Regions from separate parts of the Homo sapiens genome. Here region 1 is linked to region 2. The links are contacts of gene promoters, found by promoter capture Hi-C in human tissues and cell types (Jung and others, 2019). All regions are on one chromosome and are shown on one strand. The core of a region is centred on a gene start or on the middle of the fragment in contact, and the rest is flanking DNA. Distances in the headings are between cores, read along the strand shown.

Region 1 (5,577 bases), core at 300-2,799, 480 kb before region 2:
CCTTTGTCCTCTGCTCCAAATTCCATCTCTCAAATAGTGAGAACACAAGCAGCTACCAATTTATGGATGGATTTTACTCTAGAAATCTGTTTGCTAGTCAGTTCTTTGGAATCTGCCATGCATTTCCAAAAACATCAACAGTGACTGAGATCAGAGGCAAGTCCATGAAAATTCTATTTATACCCTAGTCCATCTAAGGATGTTGGAAACATAGCTTCTCAATTTAGCAGAATTCAGGAAACAAGTATAGATGCTCCTGGGTACTTTTTTTTTTTTTTTTTTTTTTTTTACCAATCTATGCTCTGTACCAATATAAGCACCCAAACCCCTACAGGTCCCCAAGCTTCTGCATCAGAGGGTAAAGCAAAGTTGTCTGTACCAGGAGCTGTGGCTACAAACAGCAAAGAGTTGAAAATTCTTGAGCTGGAATAGCAGAGAGGTCATTCTTATATTGAGTCTAGCAAACTGCCTTTTTCCCAAGTATCTTTAGCAATTGCTGCATTGGAAGGAAATACAGTACAATTTGTGGCATCACAGGGCATGAAAAAATGAAAGATGGATCAGGCTGTGTAGGAAAGCAAAACCTACTTTTTAATCAGGAGGGTATTATCAGCTAATCCTCTCTCTAGTAAGCTCAGTAAGTCTCCTTGGGTAAGATCTTGTTTCAAATGGAGAGTCCTGTGAGCAACTCATCTTGATTATGCAAATGTAAGGCAAGTGGACACCCACTGCCCTGGAAAATGGGAATATAACATCATTTTCTGTGGCATGACTGATGCTCCCCAATTTTCAAAATGCCCCTTGTGCTCTTTGACATACATTGAATAAATCTGCAAAGGGAGCCAAGAAACCTCCTAGAGGAAAAAGAAATTTTGATACTAATTTCTTTTCTGCTGAATTTCAATAGCATTAAAAACTCAGTGATAAACTTGGTTGGTTAAAACTGAGATTGATCAGCCAAAAAGGATACTTGCCTCTATGGAGGGGAATGCAACATGAGGAAAGGGAGTTTGTGGGCTGTGGATTGGTGACTATGGTTCAAACTAGAACTCAGAGGATGTTGGGCTCCAGGAGGGTCCATTCCTGGTTTAAATGTAACCTGGGATTGAGGTCTTAAAACCTGCTAAATTCTGGAAGCAGTAGCAGATCATATGGGTGTAAATCATATTGGAAAAAACAGGGTTTCTCAACCTCAGCATCCTTGACATACGTGGACAGATAATTTTTTTATGTTGGAATGGCAGTGCGGGGACAGTTCTATGCAATGTAGGATGTTTAGCAGTATTCCTGGCTTCTACCCATGAGATGCCAGTAGCACTCCCTTCCCCCCACCAAGTTGTGACAACCAAAAATATCCCCAAACTTTGCCAAATGTCCAAGAGGGTCAAAATTGGTTGAAAAGCACTAGTATAACCTGAAAGAGGGTAAACCTGGAATCTCTAATGTGAGGCAGCTGGTATGACTAACAGAAACATCAATGTAGCTGAGAGCAAAATTGCTTAGACTTCTTGGGAACCATTTCCAGCAGTAATTGACTAGCTACTTCTCTCTCCATTGGCATTTGCACAAAGGGTTACCCTTTGAATCAAGTGAGCCCCTCAAGATTTATGAGCAATTCTAGAGAGCAATGAAGCTTCAAGACGGAGACATTACATGCCCTGCTAAAAAGGGCAAGAATATTTTCAAGCAACTACACAGAAAATGAAAGAGTTCTGATGATATTTGTACACTAAGCTGGTGAAGCAGGTCCTGCCAGTGAGATGCATTTAAGGGAAGTAGCTGGAGAGAAAAGAATATAAAAATTATAGAAAAATATCCTTTTCAACAAAAATAACAAAAATTCACTACTTATACTGGAGCAGCAGTTTTCTCTGATATGTAAGAGCATCTCTAGTTAATTCAAATTATGACATGACTCTCTAAATAAAATGAGTCTTACAGCATTTTATTCTCTATAGCTCCAACAGCTCTCTTAGAAAGTGAGAATGTTGTGAAATGCAGCAAATAAGAAGAAAGTGTGCAATTCAAAACAGATTGAAAATCATAGCACTAGAGGAAGAAAATTAAATGCTTTAGTATCTATAAAATAAAAATGGGCTACACAGTCAATGTATCTGAGTCAATAAGTGTTTCTCTCTATTTACTATAAACCCAAGAGGTTCTAATTTGCTGGAGTTCAAGTTATGTTTGAGGGAGAGAGGTATGTAATTCAGTAAACTGGAAAAGATAAATCCAAATTGAAAGGCATGGTTTTATAAAATTTATGATTCAAAAGTCATTCTTCAGTGTCCAACTTGAACCTTATTTTAGTCAGGTTTTCCCTTGTGATAAATTTTTCTTTCAGAGAGAATGAATCAGCTACAATCAAAAGTAGTATAAAATTCAAAGAACCAGTAAAAATGACACATTCACCTAAAGCTACGATTGTGTTTCACATGTACAAGTGTGAAAGGCATATTTTAGCCATTTATTGACCTAAATAATGCACCACTGCAGCTTTACCCCAAAGAGAATATAGCATAGTAGTCTCATATCGGGCTCTATAATTTTTAGTGTTGTACAGTATCCTAGTCTCCCAAAGAGGCTTCAAATGCATCATACTTTAGTGGCATTATCCTCAAAGGCATTGAATGCATTTGCTTATTTTTTTTTAGGTATACATGTGTCACATACTGAATGTTTGTGTTACCTGCAAAATGCATATGTTGAAGACCTACCCCGTAATGTGATGGCATTTGGAGGTGGGGTCTTGGGAAGGTGATTAGGTTCAGACGAGATCATGAGGGTGGGGCGTCCATGATAGGATTAGTGTCCTTATAAGAGAAAGAGAGCAGGGCTCACTTGATCTCTAGCCTGTGAGGACACAGATAGAAGGTGGCCATCTACAAGCCAGGAAGGGAACCTTCACCAGAACCTGACAATGTCACTCTTTGTTCTCAAACTTCAGCATCTAGGACTGCAGGAAATAAATGTCTGTTGTTTAAGCCACTCAGTCGATGATATTTTGTTATGGCAGCCCAAGCCAACTAAGACAACATGTCCTTTAATCCATTTTCTGCTGCTATAAAATAATACCACAGACTGTATAATTTATAAAGAAAAGATATTTATTTGGCTCACAGTTCTGGAGGCTGGGAAGTCCAAGATTGAGAAGTGGCATCTGGTGAGGGTCTTCTTGCTGCATCATAACATACTGAAAGGATCACATGGTGAGCAAACTGTGATGCAGAGAGAGGATGGGGGCAGAACTCATCCTTATTACCAGAAAACTACTCCTGTGATCATTAACACACTCCCTCAATGATAGCATTAATCCATTCATAAGGGTGGTGCCCCCATGACCTAATCACCTTTTAAAGGTCCCACCTCTCAACACTGTTACGATAGCAATTAAACTTCAACATGAATTGTGGAAAAAAACATTTAAACTACAGCAACATGTAAAAAGTATGTCCCTCAGAATTCCATGTAAAAAAATCATGACTGTATTTCATTCATTCATTCATTCATTCATATTTTTTCATTTATTTAAAGGTATAACTCCTATAGTTGTTATTGTTGCATAACAAATGACCCCAAAATGTAGTGGTTTAAAATAATTATTTTAGAATGCACATGGATTCTGGGAGACAGGAATTTGAACAGAGCACAGCTAGTTCATTTATCTGTGCTCCACAATGTCTGGAGTCTTCACTGAGAGAACTTGAACCTGAGGAGGCAACTAAACAACTTGGGGCTAGAATCATCTGAATGCTTGTTCACTCTCATGTCTAGAGCCCTGGCTAGGACAACTCAGACTAGGACTTCCAACAGAGTGTGTATGTGTAGCCTTCCCATGTGGCCTGGCTCCCTCATAGCATGGTGGCCTCAAAGTAGTCAAACTTCTCACATGGTGGGTCAGGGCTCTAAGTATAAAAGTTTGGGCAAATAACATAGAAACCACATCATCTTTTATGGTTTAGCCTCCTGATTCAGCCAGGAAGCCAGCATCACTTCTGCTATACTCTCTTGGTCAATAGAGTTACTAGTCCACTCAGTTACAAATAGACAAAAGATAGACCCCACTTCTTGATAAAAGGGGTGCCAAATAACTTGGGGGTTTTGTTTATAAAGCCACCATAAAGGCATACCAAGATAGAGCACAGGATGTTTATTATTAGGAATAATCAAAGGAATATGACCGAAAGTCTATCAGAGTTTTAAAATAATAAAGAATATTTTGAAATACCTTATGTCAATCACTTTAAAAAGAAAAAGGACAATTTCCTAAAAACATATAATATACTAAAACTGAAATAAGAAGAAATGTAAAACCTAAATATTTTGGTAGGGAGTAAAGAAATTGAGTCTGTGGTCAGAATTCTAGTTACAACCACCCACACCCATATACCAGTTCTCAAAAAAAGATATACAAATGGCCAATACGTACAATGGAGCATGATGCTCTACATCACTACTCATCAGGGAAATGCAAATTAAAACTACAGTGAGATACCACTTCATACCTTCTATGATGGCCATAATTTAAAAAACTAAAAATGGCCAGGTGCAGTGGCTCACATGTGTAATGCCAGTACTTTGGGAGGCCAAAGGCAGGCGGATCACCTGAGGTCAGGAGTTCAAGACCAGCCTGTCCAAGATGGCAAAACTCTGTCTCTACGAAGAATACAAAAAAAATTAACCAGGCATGGTGGCAGGTGCCTGTAATCCCAGCTACTCAGGAGGCCGAGGCGGGGGAATAGCTTGAATCCGGTAGGCAGAGGTTGCAGTGAGCCGAGATCGTGCCGCTGCACTCCAGCCCAGACAACAGAGCGAGGCTCAGTCTCAAATAAAATAATAATAATAAAAAAAACTAAAAATAACAAGTGTTGGCAAGGATGTGCAGAAATTGGAACCCTTGTACAGGGCTACTGGGAGTGTAAAAGGTGCAGCCACTGTGGAAAATAATTTGGCAGTTCCTCAAAACTTAAACAGAATTGCCATACGATCCAGCAATTCCACTTCTAGGTATGTACCCAAAAGAATTGAAAACAGATACTTGAACAAATACTTTTAGGCAAATGTTCACTGCAGTATTATTCAAAATAGCTAAAAGGTGGAAACAACCCAAATGTCCATCAGCAGATGAATGGATAAACAAAATGTGATCTACATATACAATGGAATGCTGTTCAGCCTTAAAAAGGAATGACATACTGACATATGCTACAACACAGATGATCCTTGAAAACATTATACTAAGCAAACTAAACAAGACACAAAAGGACAATATTGTAATAATCCACTTACATGAAATATCTAGAATAGGCAAATGTATAGAGACAGAAAGTAAATTAAAGTTTACCAAGGGGTAATGAGGGAAGGGAGAATGGGGAGTTGTTATTTAATGGGTGTAGAGTTTCTGTTTGGAGTGATGAAAAAGTTTTGGAAGCATAGTGGTGACAGTTGCACAACATTGCAACTGTGTTAAAAACTATTAAATTATACACTTTAAAATGGGTAAAATGGCAAATTTCATGTATACACATTTTACCATAATTTTTAAAAAACTTATTAGACCCAGACAATTGTATAGAC
Region 2 (5,240 bases), core at 2,609-5,108:
CTGAAACTTCCCATCTATTCACTTTCATTCATGTTATCAAATGCCTAAAGTGCCTCCACTTTGCCCCATTTTATTCCCACAGATACTCTTTCCAAAATCCAGCTCCACTATTCCCTCCCCTGTTACACTCAAGCCCAGATCTTACAGCAGTTTCTGCCTTCTCTCTCTGGTTTTCCTTGTAGCCCTCTCCCCCTTCCTTTATAGCCCTTATCTTGGGCCACTGTACTTAACTAGGCCTTTCTTCTCCAAGAATGAAGAATGAAGGAATGAAACTCATTTCTTCTCCAGAATTGAGCTTTGCAAGGCCGGGGTCTTTCGGGTGGGGGAGGGAATGGGCAGCTCTGACATGAATCAGTAGCGGAGGTTCCTCAACCCTGTAGACTCAGCTGTCAGAGCTCCTGGGTTCCAATCCTACCGGCCCTCTTACCATCTATGAGTCCCTGACAAATGATTTAATCACATTATATACCAGGTGTCCCACCTGAAAACAGGGATCCTAGTTATTATACTTCAATAAACACCAAACACCACTGACCAATGGATACAATTATAAAGAAGGATTCCAGAAAGAGATAACTTGCGAAGGGTGGGGAACTGGAAGTTCCTGTTTAGATTGTTTTTCCATTGATATATGGGGACTACTTAATGAGTTTATTTGGGACCAGACACAGAGAAAACCAAGCAATGTTTGAATGTATTTCTGAAAAACACCCAGAGTTTTATTACCATTAATTCAGCAGAAAGTTCGTTGCACTGAAATTATCACTCTGGCTCATTCAGCTCAAAGACTCTTCGCTGCTCAAACACATAGCTGTGTGGGCCATGGAAATACATGCTGCAGGAAACAGCCTCTGAACATCGCATCCAAGAAAAATAAGGCAAATTCCAAAACACAAAAGCAAAAAATACAAAACTTGTTTAAATATTTCGTTGCACTCACTAAGCACAAAAGTTCATATTTTGGGGGGACTGTAGAGAGCTTTAAAGTATACAGAGGGACTTACGACATGACATCTCTTAAGGGAACCCGTTCTCTTTTGACCTCATTAGCATGACGTGTCCTGCACTATGCTGAGGAAGAATGTGCAGAGAGAGCTCCAAGTCTCTCCACAGAACTCCAGGGCAGTCTTCCTCTGGTTTGCCATATCTGGGTCCTCCACACACTCGGGAGCTTTGGTGGCCATGGTCTGGGTCACTGCTAGGCTAGAGGGGGTGGTCTCTTTGCCTTTGATGTGCTCCCTGGGGGACATCTCTGTTTTCTCCTTCCTGGGCTTTGTGTTCCCAAATAGAGTGGAGCTGACTAGCTTAAGACTGGATTCTGGAAAATCCTTTCTGCACACTCTGGTTTTCACAGCTGTCTTGGAATATCTACAGATGTCTTTCTGTGAGCGCAGATTCCGGGCAACTTGTTTCCAATAGACTCTCTCATCCTTGAGCTTTAGGCATGAGGTTGGATTGCCAGCAAAGACACAGGAAAATTCATGGTCCAATTGAGTGCACTCAACCTTGAGAGAGATGCCCTCCTCCTGCTCAGTAGCAGCCCATCTGCAGTTGGCTTGGTCTTTGGTGACAAACTTGCCTTTGTTCCCGGGCCTGCTTTTCTGCTTAATCTGGGTGTTGCCCAGAGTGTCCTTTTGTTCTGAGACCACTTTGCTGTGAAGTCCATTCTTCACTTTTTTTTTCCCCTCCACCAGGAGCACCTGAGCAGCCAGTAGGAGGAAGGAGAGCAGGGTGAGGCTACAGATCTTCATGGCTGCAGCTGGGCGTTCACCTGTTTGACAAAAGGCAAGTGAGTCAGTGGCAGGCAGCAGTTCAGCTGTGCAGGACTACACGCTGGCCTCCCCCTACCCTGACAGGTGCCTACATGATTTCAGAGTAGACCAAGAACGCTTCTGGCTCCTGGAGTCACTAGACAAACAGCCTGTCTACTCACATTTCCACTTGACTTGAGTCTTGAGTGTCACAAAAGTACCACTCTTTGGAGCCTCACGAACTCTCATTTATCATTTATTCACTCATTAACTCCTGCATCTGCTCACTCCTCACTCTTTCATTCACTCATTCAACAAGCATTTACTGAGCACCTACTATATGCCCCCCACCAGACTAGGTGTTGAAGAAATCACCATGATTGAGAAAGCCTCAGATTTGAAAGAGCTTAGAGACCACTCTTTGGGAGAATTTAAATAGCATTGATCAGGGAATCTATCCCGTCATCTCTGTTTCTGATATGAAACAAGTTACTGCTCCAAACTTTCAGCTCCAAAGGGCTGGATTTCTATCTCATGACTCCATATGGACACAGATGCCCAAAATGAGAAAAGACATGACAGATGCCCAAAATGAGAAAGGATGTGGTAAGCATCATGAAAGGTGATGTTGACCCAGAGTTGAACATGCCTGGGGTTTGGGTGGGGTGGGTGGGGTTGTGGGGGTGGGGGAGCTTTTTGTGGGGAAGTAAGAGTTTAAGGAAAGGTGTGAGGTGGGGTGGTTGTCTGATTTGCCTGGGCAAAGTGAATCAGGGTGGAGAGAGGTGAATTTCAACCAGATAGTTCACACTACAAGATCGAAGACAAGGATCATGAGAAATCATTGAATCAATAGGATGAACACCAACGTCACACTGAACTGCATGAATCTGATCATGTGTACAATAAAAACCCATGCTTAACAGAAGAAGAGAAGTCAGTTTCTATATGACACCTCCTGTGTGCTAAGTACTGGTCTAGGGTTTGATTCCCACCTTGTGAAATCCACACAAGAGCTCTTCCAGGTAGCTATTAATATGTCATCCCAGGTGACAGCTCTGACTCTTAAGGCTCAGACAGGTAAGTAAATTGCTCAGGATCTCATAGTGGGCAAGTTCAAAGCTGGTATGGGTAGCCAGATCAATCTCCTTATTCCTTTCTGTCACCCCTGGTTGATCACTTTTTGCTTTTCACATTTACTCTGCCCTTTAAAAACATTGCCAAAGAATAAGAAAAACAACTATGAACAATGACAATTTAGTTTCATATAACACATAATGATAAGATGATTTGTATTATTTGTGCTCCATTTAAAACAAAACACAGAATTTTTTATAAAAAGAGGCAGACCCAGGAAATGGTCCTGATCTGATTTCTACCCTAGAAGTTGGCCATCTTCTAGGGTTAAGAAGGAGAAAGACAATCACAAAAGGGCAGAGAACAGCAATAAATGGTGAAGAGGAGACTGGATATGCCAGAAAAACACCCAGTCATTTCTCACGGCCCTGGGGCTCAGCCCCCACCTGCCCATGATGGAATGCAGGCCCAAGGAACTCCAGGCCCTTGGTGGAGTGAGAAGTGGCAGCAGGTAATAAAGCTGTTAAAGGAGCGAGGCTCTTACCTTGTTCTGAGCACACGGATCCAGTGCAATCCCAGGCAGTGCGAGTGAATTGCAGGCTGCAGCTGTGTCAGGTAGAGTGCAAGGGGGGTAGACTATTCAACAGGAGCCAGGCTGACTGGGTTTTTATAACACTCACTGGGTTTTTACAACACTGTGGCACGTTACTCACAGCTCCTCCCAGCCACGCCCCTCCGAGGGAGCCGGTTCCTGCAGGGAAAGTGCTGGATGTAATCCAGTGAAAAGGGGGGTTACCTGCATGCCATCAAACGCTTCCTCTAGGCCCTTCCCTGTCCACCCTGTGGCCAGGATAGGAGGACAACTCAGCCTCACAGTGACCCTCCTTGATGGGGAGAGGACCCCAGCAGTGATGTCTATGGAGGAGTAAAATAACTATAATGACATGATCCGAGCTGCCAAACTACTGAGCCCATTTTACCTGAGTTCTCCTTTTCCCTCATCACATCCGCTCTAGTAGGGAGTGCAATGATTCCTCCCCTTTTACAAAAGCAGGAATTGGTTCTGGAGATATGTAAGAGCTTGTCCAAGTTCACAGAGGCAGGAAAAGGAACATCTCAAAATTAAAAGTGAGATTCTCTACATCCATGGTCTGATCTCTTCCTGCCTGCCACTCTCAATAAATCTTTGTTGAATGGGTGACTGAAGTTGCCGAAGTTTTCGTAGTGTCTGAGTTCCTTTTTCCATCTGAAGTTACTACATAAGCAGAGGATACCCTAATTCTAGAGGCAGGGAAATTTACATTAAAAATTCCCTCTTTTTTATCAGGGAATTCTACCAGGCTCTGAGAGGCTGGTAAAGAGGGAATTTTTAATATAAGATTACTGTTGTAAATACTTACCTTCAGGTCTCATTCAGAGAGCTCAGGCTGCCCTGCCTGCTACAGGCACAGTCCCACACCAGAATGACCCAGGTGGAATCCTGGCCACAGCATGTGTTTAGCTGAGTGCTATGCCCAAACCACTTAGCCTCTCCCATCATCCATTTGCAGTGTGCTGACAATAACAACGTCTCCTTTATAGCTGCATACTAAATTTTTACTGGGCTAAGCTGTTAACATAAAGTGGAGCAGAATCGTTTTGCCTCATGACAGGGTCTTAAGTTGTATACTTTGAAAACAGACATTTGTTATTTACATATGCAGCATTTAAAAAGAAACTCACTTCTACAGGGAAGATGTGGCCCTCATTATATATTATCACCTCACCTTTCATAGATTTTCAGAAGAAGAAATTGTTCACTTTTCCTTAATTCAGCCATAAGAAAACTATTGTTTAGTGTGATATTAAATGGCAACTGACTTTTGGGTTTGAGATAAGGCAATAGGGAGTGATGGGGACTGTGGCAAACTAGAGAGTCTCTGCCTCCATAGAGGTCAACACTCATCTCCAATTGACTGAGAAAATGCAGGGATTAGGCTCAGTATTGTCACACTGTCTGATTTTTAAAATGACATCCCCAAATCCAGATGTGTTTATATGAAATTGGTTGGCAGCTAATTAAAATTTTCTAAAAATAAAGCTGTAGCTCAACACTATGCAGGCCAAAACTTGTAACTGTGTTTGGATTTTATGAACGATCCACCTGTTTGAGAATTCCGTGGTCATAGCTATAGATGTTGACCAATTTACTCAGAGGCTCAGTCTCTGCATGAATCTGTTGGAAGAAGCCATTTCTGAAGCTGTGTGCCTCTCTCCTAAAATTGCCTCACCCAGGGGTCCGTCCTCACTATCCTCACAAACACCCCGCTGAGGCCCTGACCTCCACGAACAGGCTCTCTCATGCGGTATTTTGGAGGATTATTTGGACATAGGCAAGGCAAAGCTGCTTTGCTCAACAAGGGGAGTCTCCTACAA

What was found. Contacts are between HindIII fragments. The study calls those that stand out against the background at their distance.
Region 1: a fragment that was not itself captured here is called in contact with the fragment with the promoter of FGFBP1 in region 2 in 1 of the 25 tissues and cell types used here (IMR-90 fibroblasts).

What each region holds. Positions count from the first base shown.
Region 1 is chr4:15,459,793-15,465,369 of GRCh38, forward strand. No RefSeq gene overlaps it. Among named protein-coding and RNA genes, the nearest start is that of CC2D2A, 7.3 kb to the right of the region's middle. The HindIII fragment of the contact is 4,456 bases long and covers 1-3,777 here.
Region 2 is chr4:15,934,882-15,940,121 of GRCh38, forward strand. It overlaps FGFBP1 (fibroblast growth factor binding protein 1), which reads right to left and starts at 3,859. Exons shown (of 3, transcript NM_005130.5): 1 at 3,806-3,859; 2 at 3,370-3,590; 3 at 696-1,771. The coding sequence starts at 1,751. The coding sequence ends at 1,047. The HindIII fragment of the contact is 13,154 bases long and covers 1-5,240 here.